Linked DNA regions of Homo sapiens: regions 1, 3, 4, 5 and 6 are each linked to region 2. Evidence: promoter capture Hi-C in 16 types of primary human blood cells and fetal thymus (Javierre and others, 2016). All regions are on one chromosome and are shown on one strand. Each heading gives the region's core, a stretch centred on a gene start or on the middle of the fragment in contact. The rest is flanking DNA. Distances are from core to core; before and after follow the strand shown.

The links. The method cuts DNA at HindIII sites, captures the fragments that hold promoters and counts their contacts. A CHiCAGO score of 5 or more calls a contact.
Region 1: a contact is called between a fragment that was not itself captured here and the fragment with the promoter of FAM227B in region 2, in 7 of 17 cell types (megakaryocytes, M2 macrophages, naive B cells and 4 more). The highest score is 9.5, in megakaryocytes.
Region 3: a fragment that was not itself captured here is called in contact with the fragment with the promoter of FAM227B in region 2 in 2 of 17 cell types (naive CD8 T cells and naive CD4 T cells); the score reaches 6.2 in naive CD8 T cells.
Region 4: a contact is called between a fragment that was not itself captured here and the fragment with the promoter of FAM227B in region 2, in 4 of 17 cell types (naive CD4 T cells, naive CD8 T cells, total CD8 T cells and 1 more). The highest score is 9.4, in naive CD4 T cells.
Region 5: a fragment that was not itself captured here is called in contact with the fragment with the promoter of FAM227B in region 2 in 1 of 17 cell types (naive CD8 T cells); the score reaches 5.2 in naive CD8 T cells.
Region 6: a contact is called between a fragment that was not itself captured here and the fragment with the promoter of FAM227B in region 2, in 1 of 17 cell types (neutrophils). The highest score is 5.5, in neutrophils.

What each region holds. Positions count from the first base shown.
Region 1 is chr15:50,310,877-50,314,278 of GRCh38, forward strand. All of the region lies in intron 1 of GABPB1 (GA binding protein transcription factor subunit beta 1), which reads right to left. Among named protein-coding and RNA genes, the nearest start is that of GABPB1-AS1, 42 kb to the right of the region's middle. The HindIII fragment of the contact is 6,518 bases long and covers 1-3,402 here.
Region 2 is chr15:49,619,163-49,622,247 of GRCh38, forward strand. It overlaps FAM227B (family with sequence similarity 227 member B), which reads right to left and starts at 1,656. Exons shown (of 16, transcript NM_152647.3): 1 at 1,538-1,656. DTWD1 (DTW motif tRNA-uridine aminocarboxypropyltransferase 1) reads left to right here and starts at 1,886. Exons shown (of 5, transcript NM_001144955.2): 1 at 1,886-1,960. RefSeq lists an enhancer at 1,998-2,117. The HindIII fragment of the contact is 6,893 bases long and covers 1-2,840 here.
Region 3 is chr15:50,425,879-50,428,982 of GRCh38, forward strand. The region is part of intron 1 of USP8 (ubiquitin specific peptidase 8); the gene reads left to right. Among named protein-coding and RNA genes, the nearest start is that of USP8, 3.0 kb to the left of the region's middle. The HindIII fragment of the contact is 4,576 bases long and covers 1-3,104 here.
Region 4 is chr15:50,357,883-50,361,129 of GRCh38, forward strand. GABPB1-AS1 (GABPB1 antisense RNA 1) reads left to right here. Exons shown (of 1, transcript NR_024490.1): 1 at 1-430. It overlaps MIR4712 (microRNA 4712), which reads left to right and starts at 2,447; the gene lies at 2,447-2,528. The HindIII fragment of the contact is 6,184 bases long and covers 1-3,247 here.
Region 5 is chr15:50,330,058-50,333,463 of GRCh38, forward strand. The region is part of intron 1 of GABPB1 (GA binding protein transcription factor subunit beta 1); the gene reads right to left. Among named protein-coding and RNA genes, the nearest start is that of GABPB1-AS1, 22 kb to the right of the region's middle. The HindIII fragment of the contact is 5,779 bases long and covers 1-3,406 here.
Region 6 is chr15:50,145,018-50,148,521 of GRCh38, forward strand. It overlaps a transcript of ATP8B4 not described here. Among named protein-coding and RNA genes, the nearest start is that of ATP8B4, 28 kb to the left of the region's middle. The HindIII fragment of the contact is 5,521 bases long and covers 1-3,504 here.

The DNA.
Region 1 (3,402 bases), core at 903-3,402, 690 kb after region 2:
TGAGGCACAAGAATCACTTGAACCCAGGAGGCGGAGGTTGCAGTGAGCCGAGATCATGCCACTGCACTCTAGCCTGGGCAACAAAGTAAACTCTGTCTCAAAAAAAAAAAAAAAAACCAGGAAAGAATATCTTGTGCCTTGAATTTAATATATCTGAAAAGGCTAATGTCCCAGCCTGGGATGTGAGGTGTGCATGGGTGTGTATGTATTTGTGTCTTCTTGAATAAGAAATATTGAAATATATGTCAGAAAAAAGATTATGACAGTAGAATATAGGTAAATTAAGATTTGAATGTATCACAAACATTCAAATTCAAGGGATGACAGTTCTGAGAAGAAAGTTTCCAAACCCAGAAAGACTATCCAGCTGGAAGATTACTCAATTATGTCATACAGTATCCTAAGTAAGGAAAAGCAGAATTTTAGGCCCATGGGGAAGGGAATATATGGAATCCCTGAGATTTACAATGAAAAAATGTGCCTGGGGTATAAATTTATCTCAAAAAAAGTATATACTCTGAGGGTTAGGTAAGTAGTCAAGAGAAAATAAATTATAAAGAGAGTAATGGCAGGTTGATTAGTGTATCTCTACCTGGTATGAACAACTATTACAGGTTGAGTATCCCTAATCCAAAAATCTGAAATCTGAAACTTTTTAAGCATCAAAGGAAATACTCATTAGAGCATTTCAGATTTTGCATTTTTGCATTAGGGATGCTGAACCAGTAAGTATTAATGCAAATATTCCAAAATCTGAAAAAACCCAAAATCGGAAACATTATGGACCTAAGTATTTCAGATAAGGGATACTCAACTTGCACTCAATAAGGAAGAGAAAGGAGCGTATGTGTGAGAAGGAAGTTGGCAAATGGGGCTTGAAAAAGTTATTTCTGCCAGAAAGAAACAAAATGTTCTACATCATTAAAAGGGATAAGAAATCTAAAAGGGGTAATTATAAGAAAAGCTGTCCATGAAAATAAACAGAATTATGCCTATAATTTTTAGTAGATTAGCTACGATGGGAATAACCAAGCACAGAAGAGGTAACCAGGGACAGATACTAATACTTGGAGGCTTGCACAATAATTAGGTGAGATATACATATCCCAAACAGGCCTTCGTCACAAGGCAAGAAAGAATTTCTTAGAATTGTTTCATTTGTAAGGATAAAAATAATCTATATTATGGCAAGGCGCAGCAGCTTACACCTGTAATCCCACCACTCTGGGAGGCCGAGGTGGGTGAATCACTTGAGGTCAGGTGTTCGAGACCAGCCCGGCCAACAGGGTGAAACCCTGTCTCTACTAAAAATTCAATCCAGCCTGGGCAAGAGTGAGACTCCATCTCAAAAAAAAAAAATAATCTATATTATATCCTGTAGTAAAGAATAGGAAAAACAACCACATGTACTTGTGGGATTTATATGGGTTTTTTAAATACACTTCTCTGTGACACTCGCAACATTTTCATCCTTGAATTTCTGATTTCCTTTCCTTTTTTTCTCCTATTCTCTCATACCTTGATGGAGTCACTGAAAGCCAAGATACTCCTCAATCCTGCTTAAAGACGCTAAGATCTATAGAGATTACTGATCTCCAATGAGGCATTTTTTCCTAGATAATATGTAACTGCTGGACAGTAAAAATTAACATCATATTCAACAGGGAAGAAACCTGCAAAAATAATTTCCTATTAAAGGCAGGATAAAGCAAAAAGAAACCGACCTCTCTCCTACAGAAGTACGGTAAAATCTAAACTGGTCACACTAACAAATACAGCATTTATACTCTGAATGATATAAATTTGGCTTTACGATGAAATTTATCTTTCCAAAAATCTACATTTTTAAATAGGTTTTACACAGGTAATATAAAATCAGTTTGCATTCATTCAGCATACATACTGCCAAATGGTTTAGATATCTGAGTATCTTTTGTGAAGTGAGAGTTTAGGGCTTTTCCCCACCTTTTGAAACTGGGTTGTCTGTCTTTTTTTTATTGATTTGTAAGCGTTCTGACATATGTTCTGGATATGAGTCCTTTGTCAAATATAACAAGTATTATAAATATCTCTGTCCAGAACCCTGAATTTTGACTGTCTTATGTTCTTTCTTTGATAACACATAGTATTTTCTATGGGTAGATAACTGTTGAGTCTCATAAAAATGTGCAACTTCTACATATTAAAATAATCAAAATAAGAAATGGCAAAGAAATATATTTACCACAAAAATGACTAGAAGAAACATTCATGTTTTACTTATTTAAAAGGTCTGACTCAAAATGAAAAGGTGGGGGAAAAGTAAACAGCAAGGACCCAACACATCAATAGTTAAAAGACAGGACCATATGTTTTACAGAAAAGAAAATAGAAATAATTCACAAGGGCAAAAAATGCTCAGTGTCACTGTTAATCAGGTTAACATAAAGTAAATAATTTTAAAGTAATTCCTGATGCAGCCAAGAATTAAGTGAAACTGATGCTTTGATATATTGACAACTCAGATATGCTGATAGTAATATAAGTGGATCAGCTTTATTTTTTAGTCAACTGGGCAAATTTAACAAGTTACAAAAATATCCAAGTCCATTGACCCAATAAGTGATCCCACTTCTAAGAATCTATTCTAAAGGAAAAATATATTGAAACAGATTTATCAGTAAAGATTATATATGCATACACATATATATTATATATAACTCTTCTAATGTGACCAATCTAAAGGTAAGAAAATGATTGAATTGTAGAATCTAAAGGAAAAAAATGCAGTAATTTAACCTAATAGTTTTGAAGCTATATAAACAACAAAAAATTTATGCCACATTATGAAAAGATATAAATCTTTTTAACGTCAAAATATGCATATAAAGTATAAAATACTGAAAAATATTAACAATTGTTTAGGATGGTATGATTATGGGAAATTTTGTCATTTTACAAAGTTTCTAATGTTACTATATTACCTAATTTAAAAAATTTTTTTTCAAAGGGACAAATTACATTGTATGACTGTCAACTAAGCAAATGATAACATTAAGGAAAGTTTTATGTTCCTGACTTACTAGAGAGGATGAGCGGAAAAAACAAAGAAAATGTATAATGTTGGGAACTTAAAATATCAATCATAGATCTGCTTACATGAATTATAATAAAATCATGAAGCATTTGAACAAATCGACTTTTACCATAATTATTCAATTGTCTTAATTATTCAAAACATATCACAGTTTAGGACCTAATATACTTAAGTTACTCTGGTTTTAAAATTCCATGAGCAATACAGCCATACGGTAGATTTATTTATTTATTTATTTATTTATTTTTTGAGACGGAGTCTCGCTCTGTTGCCCAGGCTGGAGTGCAGTGGCGTGATCTCGGCTCACTGCAAGCTCCACCTCCCAG
Region 2 (3,085 bases), core at 406-2,905:
TGAGGAAAAAAAAAAGTGTATTAAACCACCGATATTTTGGGGTTTTCTGTTACAGAAGTAAATTCACTATGCTGGTTTTAAAACATGGACAAGAAATCTTTGCCAATCCTTTGAGAAGAGGGATCTATGTCTCCTTTCCTAAAATGGAACAGGACTTTGACACATTTGTAAGCAAAAGAAAGTGGGGGAAGTAGCACCGCGTTACTTTTTGAGGCAAGGTCAGAAAAGGTCAGGCAATTTTTGCCTTGTTCATTGCAACACTCCCTTTGGAGCTCTGAGTTTAAGCTAAGAAGTCTGACTACCTTGCTGCCATACTGTGAGGAAACCCCGGCCATATAGTTACAGAAGCTCTGCTAGCATGCCCACTCTAGTCTTTCTAATTGAGTTACCAAAGAAAAGCTGATGACTATGCCCTATTGACAACACCACCTGTGAACATAATAAAATGGTTGTTTTAAGCCACCATATTTTGGAGTAATTTATTACATACGATAGCAACCCAATGCTCAATCTAACAAGTAGTATTATTTGCTTTTTAATCTGTGCAATTTAACTACTTTGATAAAATTTAGAGTTAAACTAAAAAGGAAAATGGTTGTGAATTCTTCTTGGCTTATAGACTTTGCTATTCTACTTTCCCTACCCAGAAAATTCACCTTTCTCCCTAAATCACTGGCTTTCAAACTTTTTAAGGTTTGAAATACAGTAAGAAATACATTTTACAAACAAGCCCTAGTGCACACATACACGCATATATACAATTAAAAGCTCCATAAAGCAGTACTTTACTAACTAACACTAAATTTACTTACATGCGCTGATATTTCCAATCTATATTGTTTCTTTTTTTTAAGTTTAAAGAGATTTCCTTGCTTACAAATGGGTCAAGACCTCCACTAATGGGTCCCACACAATCCCCTTTCCAGTTGAAAAACACTGTCCTAAACCTAAATCATTCTTCAAGGCCTTACCCAAGTCCGAAAAAGAAGCCTTTATTGACCACTCCATTCTCAGCTTTCTTGAAATTCCTGTAATTTATTAAATTCCATTTTTTATCTCAGTAGTAAGAATATTGCATTTTCTGTACTTGAATTTAACATGCTTTACTTGATATCGTGAGCACTTCTAGGGCATTGTAATGTCCTTTATCTACCACTTGATAAATTCAGAGTAGTCAATAAAACATTGCTCAACATTTGACCATTGTGTTTTAAAATCTTAGTTGTTAGAGTGCACTTCCGTTTGCGCATTGTTTGGGGAGAGGCACGGACAAATGTTCTAATAACTTATCCACATATTATACTTCAAAGTGGAAAAACACAAAGTACTCTTAACTCTATATGCGTGTTTTTATGCAAACTAAATCATTAAGATACAAATGATTTTTCTAATAGCTTTCATTACCACACAGCACACGAAATAATGATATTGATATAGCCACGAAAGACTAATGTAACCAAGTTCTCACAATCAAAATATCTTTGAGGTGGGCAAAATGCAAACTTTTCTCTGGGATCAACATTTCTTCACAACTCACTGCAACTACGCCTTGACAGTATGTTTCGAGAACCGCTTCCCAATTTTGTTGTCCCAGCAAGAATCGGGAGGAAACTGGGTGAAAGGCTGCGAGGCTTGAGGCGGGTCCCGGACGAACGCGGCCCTGCCCCTCGCCGGAGCCTCTCGGGAGAAGTGCGACACCGCCGCTGATTGAGAGGCTGAGGCGGAACTTCCCGTCTAACCCCCCCCCCGCTGTCGTCCCAGCCTGTTGCTTAAGCCGCGCGGTGTGCGGTGTGCGCGGCCCCTGCCTTAGCAACGACGCTAGTAACTGCCTGGCTCCTCCCTCTGGTGTCTCCCGGAAAGCGCTCCGTCTGGTCCGTGCGCGATCACGGCCCGGCGCGTGGCTCGGGCTCGGGCGGAGCTGGAGACGTGTGGAGCTGTTCGAGGACTCGCGGGTGTGCAGGTCTGAGTACCACTCCGATCCCTGGTGGAGGTCCCCGCGCCTCTCTGGAGACCAGTGGTCTGGCCCCAGAGGTGCGGCCGCGGGAAGTGGACATTCTTTGTCAGGACCCTAGCGGAGGTCGCGCTGGGTGTCGCCTGTGAGGGGGATCCTCGGTTTCTGCGCGGTCTCTTGCTTTTTTTAGGATCTTGCGGGCCCTTTGGGAAAAAGGTTTCCAAATTTTTCCTCAAAAAAAAAATTATTTTTCCTACCAATGATTTTCGGTGCATTCCGCCCCAACGAAAAGTATGTCCTGGCAAAGTCAGTTCCCTAGGAACCCCATACTTTATTTTATTTTATTTTTAGTATTTGGAGTGGTTTGTGGGGGTTTGGTTATCACGGAAGGGGAAGCGTAGTACAGACGTAGAATTAGTGATGCCATGCAGTGTATTTAAAATATTGAGGTTGTGGTTACATAATAAGCAAAAGAGCCTGTTTCTTACGTCTAAATTATTTATTGGGAATGTAGGACAAATAAGGAAGTATATTAACATTTTCAGTCGCCAGGCCCACAAAGTTGGATGGTAAAATCAATACTGTAGATCGCAGCATGTAAGGACTAACCCAGTGCACCATGAAAACGAAGGCAAGACAGTTTGTTACCATATGGCGGGTGGTGTGGGAGAGGCCATTGATCCTATATGAAAAAGGGTACTACTACCTTGGATTATGAAAAATGAATGTTGGACCTGTAGGTCCTATGTGACCAAGTTCTTAAAAACACTCTAAAGAAAATTGGAAGTGGTTTTTTTCTAATACTGAATTGGTCCACAATATAGGACAGGGGAGTCTGTATAGTGTTCCATTGGGAGGTGAGTCAGCTTACAATAATGGAAGAGGTAGAAGCTTTTTGTTATTATTTTGGAGAAAAAAAAATTGCCAGCCTGCCACTTGTGCTAGGCTGCAGACGGCCCATAAAGGTAGTTTGTCAGATACTTCAGTAGTGAGATGCTTACTGGATGTGTTTTGCAGAATGGTTTTGATTTAGTTAACAAGTGTTTGTTGAGTTCCTGCTGTTGCATAAGAATCAGGAATAGGTGAGATCAGGGAAGGAATCTGCTCTTACAGAGTTGAATGCTGGAGGGGATA
Region 3 (3,104 bases), core at 114-2,613, 810 kb after region 2:
TTGGGAGGCGGAGGTGGGCGGATCACTGAGGTCAGGAGTTCGAGATCAGCCTGGCCAACATGGCGAAACCCGGTCTCTACTAAAAATACAAAATTAGCTGGGCGTGGTGGTGCACGCCTGTAGTCCCAGCTACTCTGGAGGCTGAGGCAGGAGAATCGCTTGAACCTGGAAAGCGAAGGTTGCAGTGAGCCGAGATTGCGTCATTGCACTCCAGCCTGGGTGACAAGAGCAAAACTCCGTCTCAAAAAATAAAAAATAAAAAGCGTGGACATAATGGAAAATAATCAAAATGACTTTTGGGTAAGACAGTTGGAAAATAAAGCCAGTACATTAAATTTTTTTCATAAGTCTAGCACTATATTACGAACTTTTCTCCATGAAAATGCACTCATATTTATGGAAGTGAAAGGAAAAAAATGTCTTCAGGTATGTGTTGCTAATAAAATTAGATATAATTAAGGAAACATTTAAAAAATACCTTGTTGTTGTCCCAGTTACCTATTGCTGCATAACAAATCACTCCAAAACATAGTGACTTAAAACTGTAATTTAGTATCTCTCCTGTTTCTCTGGCCTGCCTGGACTTAGCTAAGTGGTTTTCACCTAGAGTTTAATGCGTTTGTATTCAGATAAGCAGCTGAGTTTGGAGTCAACCGAGAGCTCAGCTGGTCTGGACATCCAAAATGGCTAATTCACGTGAAGGCGTTTGATGTTGGCTAGGAGTTCAGCTGGAAATGTCAACTGGAATGCCCACACATAGCCTCTTCACGTGACTTGAACAGTATGGCGGCTAGGTTCCGAGAATACATGTTTGAGGAGTCAGGAAGTAGAAGCTGCCAGTCTCCCAAAAAGCCTGAGCCCAGAAATTCGCACAACATTACTTCCAACATACTCTGTTGGTTAGAGCAAAGACCAGCGTACAACCCTCACCTTTGAAAGGAAAAATGTCAAAGAATTTGTGGCCGTGCTTTGCCTACTATAATTTTGATGACAAAGTTGTATTGGACTCTTGTTTGCATTTATATAGCAGATGAAGAATCAGGTACACTTCCAATTTCCAGTTTCTTTCTTTCTTCTTCTTCTTTTTTTTTTTTTGAGATGGAGTCTTGCTCTGTTGTCAGCCTGGAGTGCAGTGTACGATCTCAGCTCACTGCAACCTCTGCCTCCTGGGTTCACGCCATTCTCCTGCCTCAGCCTCCCGAGTAGCATGTCACCAAGCCCAGCTAATTTTTGTATTTTTAGTAGAGATGGGGTTTCACCATGTTGGCCAGGATGATCTTGATCTCTTGACCTGTGATCCACCTGCCTCAACCTCCGAAAGTGCTGGAATTACAGGCGTGAGCCACCGCGCCTGACCCATTTCCAATTTCTTTAACCGTAATACTTTATGTTGTAATGGCATATTACAGTTTTCAAAGCATGTTTTTGTATATTTTTTCACTTGATACCTATGGTCACCCTATAGAAGCAGACAAATAGTTCCTATTTCATTTTGCAGATGAAAGTAAACTGAAGAGTGGTGGTGGTATTGGGAGTGATTTACGGAATTTGTTCAAAGTCATATGATTAATAAATGGAAAGTAAGGCCTGCAACAGTTCCATAATATTAAATTTATTAGTACTGAATGATGAAATATTATATTAAACTTATTTGGAATTCTACATTTATAGCCGTACTAATTTTTTTTTTTTTTTTTTTTTTGAGACGGAGTCTTGCTCTGTCTTCTAGGCTGGAGTGCAGTGGTGAGTTCTCGGCTCACTGAAATGTCCGCCTCCTGGGTTTAAGCAATTCTGCTTCAGCCTCCCGAGTAGCTGGGACTATAGGCACCTGCCACCATGCCCGGCTAATTTTTGTATTTTAGTAGAGATGGGGTTTTGCCATGTTGGCCAGGCTGGTCTTGAACTCCTGACCTCAGGTGATCTGCCCGCCTCAGCCTCCCAAAGTGCTGGGATTATAGCCGTGAGCCACCATACCTGGCCCTTTTTTTTTTTAAACTGAGACAAGGTCTTGCTCTGTCACCCAGGCTGGAGTGCAGTGGCATGACCTTGGCTCACTGTAACCTCTGCTTCCTGGGCTCAAGTGATCCTCCTGCCTCAGCCTCCCAAGTAGCTAGGACTGCAGGCACACGCCAGCACACCTGACTAATACCATACTAATTCAAGTAAAACAGTTCTCATGTATAGTGAATAAGGGTTAACTAAGCCTTGTCTCTTTTGACTAACACATTACAATTTAGTTTTTTGTTTGTTTGTTTTTGAGAGGGAGTCTTGCTCTGTCACCTAGGCTGGATGCAGTGGCATGATCTCGGCTCACTGCACCCTCCGTCTGATGGGTTCAAGCAATTCTCCTGCCTCAGCCTCCCAAGTAGCTGGGATCACAGGCATATGCCGCCACGCCCAGCTAATTTTTTGTGTTTTAGTAGAGATGGGGTTTCACTGTGTTGCCCAGGCTGGTCACGAACTCCTGAGCTCAGGCAATCCACCTGCCTCGGCCTCCCAAAGTGCTGGGATTACAGGCGTTAGCTACCACGCCGGGCCTACAATTTAGTTTTTAATAATGCAGCAGTCTTCCTCTTATCTGCAGGGGATATGTTTCAAGACCTCCAATGAATGCCTGAAACCACAGATAGTACTGAACCCTATATATACTATGTTTTCCCTATATATACATTTTTATGATAAAGTTTAACTTATAAATTAGTAACAAGAGATTAACAACAATAACTAATAATAAAATAGAATAATTACAACAATATAGTGTAATAAAAGTTATGCCCTGTGGCCATAACTTGTGCAACTTGAGGTGTGACAGCAAAACTAGCACAAATTTCTTTTTCCTTCATAATTTTGCAGATAAAAGATCTTACCATAGATCTTAGCAACCTCAGCATGAGGTTTTTGGTTTTTTTTCTTATTAGGTTGAGAACTTTCACCTTTTTGCTTAAAGGAAGCAGTTTACAACTTCTTTTTGACATACGTGAATCTCTGCTTTTACACTTTGAAGCCATGATTAAGTAAAATGAGGGTTACTTGAACACAAGCACTGTAATACTGCTATAGTCAGTCTGGTAACTGAGACGGCCACTTAGTGATTAACAGGCAGG
Region 4 (3,247 bases), core at 172-2,671, 740 kb after region 2:
GGGAATAGCAAGGTCAGTGTATCCGAAATCTAGTGACCAAAAGAAGGAATGATAGGAGGTGAAGTCTTCAGCCTCAATAAGAAGGTGAAGTGCACTGGAAGCCATTGAAGGATTTAAGAAATGGAGTATCTGGCCGGGCGCGGTGGCTCACGCCTGTAATCCCAGCACTTTGGGAGGCCGAGGTGGGAGGATCAAGAGGTCAGGAGATGGAGACCATCCTGGCTAACATGGTGAAACCCCGTCTCTATTCAAAATAAAAAATTTTTTTAAAAATTAGCCAGGCGTGGTGGCGGGCGCCTGTAGTCCCAGCTACTCGGGAGGCTGAGGCAGGATAATGGCGTGAACCCAGGAGGCAGGGCTTGCAGTGAGCCGAGATCGTGCCACTGCACTCCAGCCTGGGCGACAGAGCGAGACTCCGTCTCAAAAAAAAAAAAAAAAAAAAAAGAAATGGAGTATCATGGACTAGGATAGTAGCAGTAGAGATGAGGGAAGTGGATGGATCCAAAAAGCTGACCTATCTTGCTTACCAATTAAATGAGGAAAGGGAGGAATCAATAGTGATGCCTAGGTTTGGGGCATGTTGTCTAGGTGGAATTAATTTTAATTACACTTTTAACCCCTAGCATATCCAAATATTATTTCACATGTGATCAACATAAAAAATTACTAAATATTAAAAATATTTTACATTATCTTTCTCATAACTAAGCATTTGAAATCTGGTGTGTATTTTATACTTATAGCATATCTCAGTACTTGATTTCATAAAATTTCCAGCTGAAAAAATAGATTCACGTACCCAAGTCGTTCCAAGCATACTTAAAAGTTTTACGGTAATCGAATCGTGTATATTTTTAAATTTTATTTTAAATTAAAGTTAGGATTATGAATTCAGTTCCTAAATTAGCCTCATTTCACTTCTGCATTTCAAGTGGGACAAGTTATTACCATATTGGACAATGCAGTCTAGTGAAGTAGAGGATAGTGGAAAGTCAGACTTAAAAAGTTGTTTAGAACCAGCTCTGGAAGGCCTTGGATGTCAGATTAAAGGACTGAGATTTTACCCTTGAGTCAGGCAGAATAATGGATGGTTTTTGAACTAAGGAGTGACACAAGGTTGTGCTTATGACTAGAAGGAGGCCACTAGGTGGCCAGCTGGTGAGTCAGGACACCCTTCAGTTGCTTTGACTTCAGCCCTGTGGATTCAAAGTCTGATTTTTGTCAGCGCTCTAGAGCAGTCTCACCAAAAGTGTGGTCCACAAGGCAGTGCCAGTCTGTAAGCCCTTTGTTACACATCCATGTCAAGGCATTTACAGAAAGTAAGAATTTAGAAACTTATAGCAGTTTAACAGACTAATTTTATTTCTGTGGGTCTAATAAAAATTTGAGGGATTGTACTTTGCATATTCTTTATTTCCCTTTTTTTGTTTGTTTTTTGTGTTCGAGATGGGAGTCTTTTTCTGTCGCCAGGCTGGAGTGCAGTGGTGCAGTCTCGGCTCACTGCAACCTCTGCCTCCTGGGTTCAAGCGATTCTCCTGCCTCAGCCTCCCAAATAGCTGGGATTACAGGTGTGCACCACCACATCCAGCTAATTTTTGTATTTTCAGTAGAGACGGGGTTTCACCATGTTGGCCAGGATGGTCTTCATTGCCTGACCTTGTGATCCGCCTGCCTCAGCCTCCCAAAGTGCTGGGATTACAGGCGTAAGCCACCGTGCCCGGCCCTTTTTTCCTTTTTAGTTTATTTTTTTCTTTTTTGAGACAGAGTTTCGCTCTTATTGCCCAGGCTGGAGTGCAATGGTGCGATCTTGGCTCACCGCAACCTCTGCCTCCTGAGTTGAAGCGATACTCCTACCTCAGCCTCCCAAGTAGCTGGGATTACAAGCATGCACCACCATACCCTGCTAATTTTGTATTTTTAGTAGAGACGGGTTTCTCCATGTTGGTCAGGCTGGTCTCGAACTCCCAACCTCAGGTGATCTACCTGCCTTGGCCTCCCAAAGCGCTGGGATTACAGGTGTGAGCCACTGCACCCGGCCGTTTTTTTCTTTTTCTAATAATTTTTATCATATTACATAAAAGTACCTATGGTCTCACAGATGAAGGGAGTCAGAAGAACCAAACTCCCAGAAGACATATAAATCTAAATGCCTTTTTTACTTTAGAGTGAAAACTGTAATAGCTAAATTATAATGGACATCTGCTCATTTTCTCCCTCCATGTAGACATGGAAAGCTACACGGAAATAACCGAGTTTATAGTAGCTACCATATATTAAACGTTTCCTGTATGCCAGCCACTGTGCAAAGCATATTATATATATTGTCTCATTTAATCCTCACAACTCTGTAAAATAAGTATTGTTTGCCCCATTTTTCCAATGAAGAAACCGAGGCTAAAATAGGTTGAATAACTTACCTAAATTCACCATCCTCAAAGGTGTTAAAGACAGGATTCCAGTACAGGTCTCTCATTTCCTTCATGATTAGGAATACTACTTTGAAATGAGAGACCTGTACTGTATCTGTTAATTCCAAATTCCCTGGCATAAAGACTCAGTACATTGTTTAAAGAGAATGCATGAAGTTAACTGCATTACCTTTTGGAGGGTTCATTTGTGAATTTGGGGCCAAAGTAAGGGGAGTTACTGGTATTCTAATAGCATCAAACAAATGAATTCATTTCATCTTTTGGGGAGGTGGAGGGAATAAGGTCTCACCTTGTCGCCCATGCAGGCTGGAAGGCCGTGATGTGATCTCAGCTCACTGCAGCCTCAACCTGGGCTCAAGCGATCCTCCCACCTCAGCCTCCTGAGTAGCTGGGACTACAGGTGCACACCACCACGCCCAGCTCATTTTTGTATGTTTTGTAGAGACTGTGTTTTGCCACGTTGCCCAGGCTATTCTCAAACTCCTGAGCTCAAGTGATCCTCCCACCTCAGCCTCCCAAAGTGCTGGGATTACAGATGTAATCCACCACACCCAGCCAAATGCATTCATGTCTACAATAGAAATACATCTCTTTGCTGCTATCTTGAATTTGTAGACTCCCACAAATCAATAAAAAAGAAGACATCCAATAAAAAAATGGGTAGAGGCCAGGCAGTGGCTAACACCTGTAATCCAAGCACTTTAGGAGGCCCAGGCAGGCAGATCACTTGAGGTCAGAAGTTCAAGACCAGCCTGGCCAACATGACAAAACCCTGTCTCTACTAAAAATATAAAAATTAGCCAGACGTAGTGGCACGT
Region 5 (3,406 bases), core at 659-3,158, 710 kb after region 2:
CACCACACCTGACTAATTCTAATTTTTGGAGAGACGAGGTTTTGACATGTTGCCCAGGCTGGTCTCAAACTCCGGGGCTCAAGCAATCCTCCCACCTCAGCCTCCCAAAGTGCAGGGATTACAGGCATGAGTCACCATGCCCAGCCACCATTCCCTACTTCTCACACCAAAGGAACATACTAAACACACATTGTTCTGTACTTTGCTTTTTTTCCCATTTAATATATATCCTGGAAAATACTGCATAGAGATTTTTCTCATTCTGTTTTACAGCTGCATAGTACTCGGCTATGTGAAAATACCATTGTATACTTTTAATTAAAAAAAAACTAGTTATCTCTTACTCTAGCAATCACAAGATCTCACCTTGCAATTTGAGTCCCTCTATCAACTGCCTCACACATTTACTTCATCCATTTTTCTCTGAATATAGGGCCCTGACAGTCATCCGATTTTAAACAATTCTCCTTCCTCATCTCATACACACTTACCTTATTCCAGACCCAATTCTCCTTCCTCATCCCATACACACTTACCTTATTCCAGACCCAATGTCTCCCCTCATGCTATTTTCCCAGTTTAGAATGGTTACATCCTTTCTCTCCAAATGCTATACTTCAATCAAAGCCCATTTTTAAAAGATCTTTTCTCCAACAAAACTTTCTAAGATGAGCTCTTAAATTTCCTCAGCAATATATAGCATAATCTCTATGTTTCTCTTCATTCAACAAACAAATGTTTACTGAGTAAATGAAGAGCAAAGAGCTTATGTTCTGGGATAAGAACTTCACAATAAAGAAGTAAATAAGTAGTAGTAGTAGTGGTGGTTGTGGCAGTGATAAACGGTATGAAGAAAAAGTAAGGCAGAGTAAGAAACAGAGTACTAGATTAGGGATAGGGAATTGCCATTTTGGAGAAAGTGATTACAAAAGGCCTCTCTGAGGAGGTGACAACTGAGTAGAAACAGGAATGAAAGGGAAAGCAAACCTAGGGAGGATCCAAAGGAAGCATCATGATGCACAAGTCATTCTCTTGGTTGCTTAGCATCAAAACACCTTCTTGTCCTTGGGGAATTCCCTTCCATATGCATCTTGAAAGAAGGCAGAAACCTCTGCCTACTACTGAATATTTGCTTTCCTTGCTTCCCATAAGGCAAGGGTACAGTCATATGACCTCCACTCCACAAGAGAAGCATCTGTGCTGGACCTTAATGTAGAAGATAGTGCATTTAAAAAGCCGAGAGTGTGTAGAACCCTTAGTGGCAAACGTGGCAGCAGATTCCAATAACAGTAGTGGTAGCAGCTTCCTCCTGTGATAAATTCCTTTTCTGTTAAATTAACCAGAGATTATTTGACTACTTAGAACTAAGAATTCTGGCTGACCCTGGTGATCCAGGGAAATGGAACAGCATATGTTAAGCGCCCTGAGCTACAGTGAAGAAGTATAACAGGAAATGCAATCATAGAAATACAAATGGGCTGGATCACATAGAACCTTATAGGCACTAGAAAGAGTGAATTTTATTGAGATTACTAGCAAGTTGTCAGAAAGTTTTAAACAGGAGAGTGTTGTGATGTGATTTACATTGTTAAGAGGCTACTCCTGTTATCATTTGGTTAATACATAGTGGAAAGCAAGAACTGAAACAAGCGTACTAGTTAGAAAATTATTCCAGGCAAGAGCTGCTGGCACCTCAGGCCTGGATGATACCTGTGTGGTTATTAGACAATTTACCTTTAATTGCTATATATTTAAGTTAAATCTAACATCATATTTTATGCTTTCCATTTGTCCCGTTCAGTTTTTTTTTTTGTTTTTTGTTTTTTGTTTTTTTTGAAATAGAGTCTCGCTCTGTCGCCCAGGCTGGAGTGCAGTTGCATGATCTCTGCTCACTGCAACCTCCACCTCCTGGGTTCAAGCGATTCTCCCGTCTCAGTCTCCCAAGTAGCTGGGATTACAGGCATGCACCATCACACTCTGCTGATTTTTGTATTTTTAGTAGAGACGGGGTTTCACCATGTTGATCATGCTGGTCTCGAACTCCTGACCTCAAGCAATCCACCTGCCTCGGCCTCCCAAAGTGCTGAGATTATAGGTATGAGCCACCGTGCCCAGCCCCCTGTCCAGTTTCTTTTCTCTCCTTTGTTGTTGCTGCCTTCTTTCCCCTCAATTCTTTTTAGCATTCTATTTATTTCCTCTACTGATTTGGAAGTTATACCCTCTGTTTCTGTTCTTTTGTTGGTTTTCTAGAAATTATACCATGCAGTAAAGTCTAATCAAAATCTTTATTCTCTCTTTTCCCAAAAAATCTATAGATTTTAAAAGACATAAGCAACACATCAACAAAATGCAATATGTAGACCCTGTTTGGATTCCAGTTTGAAGAAACCAAATATAATTTTTTAAATCTTTTTTTAGATAATTGGGAAAATGTGAATACTAACTACATAATGCTAAGAAATTATTGATTTTTTTCTGTATATGATACTGGTATTATACTTTAAGCCCATATCTTTTATAAGAACAATATATTTATGGGTTAAATAATGTGATTGTTAGGACTTACTTTAAAATACTTGGGATATATATAAAAACACTTTAGTCATGAATTCATAACTGTTGAAGGTGGGTAATAAATACATAAGGATTCATTATACTCTTCTCTTTTACATATTTAAAATTTTCCATAAGAGGTTTTTTTTAAATTACTATCCTTCTAGGTAAGACAAGGACCTTAAATCCTAGACTCTACCTATCCTACTTGTTATACCCTTGTTTTTAATCCATTAGACATTTTTACTATGTTTAATGCAATCCATATTCATTTTCATTCTCTAAATATGTATCATTTTCTTTACCTTTAATTTACTCTTCATACATTTCATTTTGTGATTTGAGATCAATTTCATCCTGTCCTAAGTATATCCTTTAAAAACATACTGTCCAATATGGTGCATGTGGATATTTAATAAAAATTAAGTTTATTGGCTTAATAACTTATTAATAACTTAATAACTTATTAAGCCAATAAACTTAAAAATTCAGTTTATTGAATTTTCAAGTACTCAATAGCCCTATGTAGCTTATGACTACAATATTGGACAGCACAGAAAAAGAACATTTCCAGGCCAAACATGGTGGCTCACACCTACAATCCCAGCAGTCTGTAGGACTGAGGTGGGAGAATCACTTGAGCACAGGAGTTTGAGCCTGAGCAACACAGCGAGACCTCGTCTCTACAAATAATTTTAAAAATTAGACAGGTCGAGGTTGTGTGCATCTGTGGTCCCAGGTACTCAGGAGGCTGAGGTGGGAGGATTGCCTGAGTGATCACATTATCATTATATTATCACATTACTTCATCCATAAATATATTATTTTTAGCTCAGTGAGCCATGATTGCACC
Region 6 (3,504 bases), core at 10-2,509, 530 kb after region 2:
TAGAACTTTTTGCAAGATCTATTGAGTTAACCAGGGGTATGGTATTACCTCTACAATCCCAGCTATATGTACCACATCCTAATCTGAGTTAAAATGAACCTTGATATTTAGTTTACTTTTTGGCTTTGACTACTTTTTACTTGTTTTAAAAATCAGGATAAAACAAAATTGAACAAAAAATAAAGAGGTAAAGTGCATTCAATAAAGAGATTTTAATTAACACTGGGCATAAAAATACATTTTACTGAATCTTAAGGGTTTTTTAACATTTGCTGTTTATAGTATCTTGTCTGATTTGAGAGGCTATCAAATCACAGATCAGTCATACATTGATTCAGGATCAGTCTCTTTCTTTTTTCAGTATATTACATTACTGAGGGATAAACTGGATTTAGAGTTAATTTTAAAAGTTAAATTGGTATTACCTGAAAAATGAATCCATTTAAAATATTTCTGCATTGGGTGGGAGTCTGTCCTAAACACACTCCACAGCTCATCATTCCATGTAGGTGCGTCACCCTATCCCAGAACACAAAGGAAACTTATTCTTGGAGTGTTACTGCCATCTAGTGGAAATTTTACTAAATGTGAATAAATTCTTAAGGCTAATTAGGCCCCCTACTCTCTTCACCGCCACTCTCACCATGTCTTTTTTTCTTTTTCCTTCCTTTCTTTCTTTCTTTCTTACTATCACAGGTGCACTCAGGTACACCAAGAAGAGAAAATGCTTGCTCAGTCATTGGGAACTTTTTTGAAAATTGGTGCTTTGTGCCCAGCAAGACAATATTTCTATTTGGCCAAAGCTACTTTGTCAGAAGATATATGAATATGTCCTAATTTTTGCAAAAAAAGAAATGCAGAAAGGATTAACCAGAAACTAATGGGATTGATTACCTAAAGCAAAAGGATGAAAATGAATGAGAAAGATGGAAAAAGATAGAACTCTTCTGATTATATTTTTATATAGTTTTTACTCTTGAACCACATAAATGTTTACTTTTTTTTTTTTTTTTGAGACGGAGTCTCACTCTGTTGCCCAGGCTGGAGTGCAGGAGCGCGATCTCGGGTCACTGCAACCTCTGCCCTCTGAGTTCAAGTGGTTCACCTACCTCAGCATCCCGAGTAGCTGGGATTACAGGCGTCTGCCACCGTGCCCAGCTAATTTTTTGTGTTTTTAGTAGAGACGGGGTTTCACCATCTTGGCCAGGCTGGTCTTGAACTCTGACCTCGTGATTCACCTGCCTTGGCCTCCCAAAGTGCCGGGATTACAGGCATGAGCCACCACGCCCGGCCTACATTTTCAAATATAAAATTTAGTCACCAGGCTGGGAGGACTGTTAAGTTGAACAGAAACAGAAACAAATCAACCTAAGCATGTATCATATAAAAAATGTAATTATTCAGAACAAGAAAAATAATTATTCCAAGTAACTTGTGAATGTGAAATTCTAACTGGCCACCCTCAGGGAATATTCTAAGGATAATAATTAAGAAAGCCTTGAACTTTACCTGGTAAGGTAAGTTTGTCTTTGGTAGTGGTATTGATGTAGTAATTCTGAAACTACTTTGCGTGTGTTTTAGAATTTCAAATAGATAAACATATTGATCTTGCTGGTGTTGCAGGACTTTTCCTTAGTTCAGCTAAAGACAGGGTCCTTTTCCGTCCCATGGTCACCAACATTTAGGCTCATAGATGGTTTGAAGCGTGAGTAAAGCAGGGTTGTATTGGGTAAAAGGGAAAAAAGGGGAAACAGGGATCCTCCTAAGGCCAGAGTCCCTGCTAGAGAACTTCCCACCCACAAGTTCCACACAGGAAGAGGAGGAGCCTTGAATCCCAGGTTCCACACAGGAAGAGGAACCCTTCTGCAAATGTTGTGAACTTCTGTGTCTCCACCCCAGTGTGCACTCTTCCCAGTGCACAAGCCAGTTGGAGTTTTTCCAGGGATCCTCTTCCCACTTGGCTGTCTCACTGGGAACCAGTTTTCCCATTATGGGAGGGTTGTTTTTTGTTTTTTAAAAGAGATATGGAGTAAAGGAAGAAGACGCAAACTCTTTGGTGTTGGGTTACGAAGTTAGAGGTATCAGTACAAATTCGAGGTCTTTAAAACTATGTATTAGCCAGGCACGGTGGCTCACGCCTGTAATCCCAGCACTTGGGGAGGTCAAGGTGGGCAGATCACCTGAGGTCAGGAGTTCAAGACCAGCCTGGGCAACATGGTAAAACCCTGCCTCTACTACAATTACAAGAATTAGTCGGGTGTGGTGCTGCATGCCTGTAATCCCAGCTACTCAGGAGGCTGAGGCATGAGAATCGCTTGAACTGGGGAGGCGGAGGTTGCAGTGAACAGAGATCACACCACTGCACTCCATCCTGGGTGACAGAGAGAAAGAGACACTGTCTCCAAAAAAAAAAAAAAAAAAAAAGTATATACTTCCTATTTTGTCCATTGAAAGAGCCTAGAAGCAATAACCCTCCTGCAGAAGGAGTATACCTGCACCCTGGCTTCCATGTCTAAACACCATAGTCAAAAGACAAAAGCAGGATCCCACGGAGAAATGGTTGATTCCAGGGCTGGGTCAAGGGAAGCACAAGGTGATCCTGGAACATCTTTTGTTTCAGAACATCAGAACATGCTCAAAAGCTGATCGGGACCTGCCAAAAGACACAGGAGCCAACCAAGATCAATGACACAAAAGAATATATAACATTGAATTTTTTGAAAATTGCTGAGTCTATACCCAACCTTTAAAGGAGGAAAAAAAGAAAAAGAAAAGATGCCAATGAATGCATGTGGAAGGAATGATAGAAACAGAAAATCACCCTCTCAGAACCACCATAGAAATAATAGATTCAGGCAAGGATCATCAAAGAGTGCCAAAATCATTCAGTGGGAAATTGGGGCGTAAAAGAATATTTATACAATCTAAAAGTATAACTCCATGCAATACATATTAATTACAAAGAAGAACTATATCTTTCCAATGCATCTAGCAGTTAGCATTTCTACTAAGTGATCCAACTTAATACGAGCAATAATGGGACAATCAGGCAGCAGATGCCTCCTGGTCTGACACACTGAGAAGGACAGAACACCACTTCTTTAGTGTTCCTGCCAAACTGCAAAACCTGAATCTAATCATGAGGAAACATCACATAAACCCAAGTTAAAGAACATTCAACAAAATACTGGCCTGGACTCCAAAAATGTTAATGTCAATTAAAGACCAAGGAAAAGCTGGGGAACTGCTCTTGATTAAAGGAAACATAAAAGACATAAATAATTATATTTAATATTAAATGCAATCTGTAATCTAGATTGGCTTTTGGATGGTTTACAAAAAAAAAGCTATAAGACATTGCAATGGGTTGAATGTGTCCCCTCCAAAATGTAGGTGTTGCCAATATGACAGTATTAAGAGGTGGGGCCTTTAAAAGGGGATTAGGCCATGAGAGCTCCTCCCTCATGAATGGGATTAAGGCCCTTACAAAAGAGGCTTCATGCA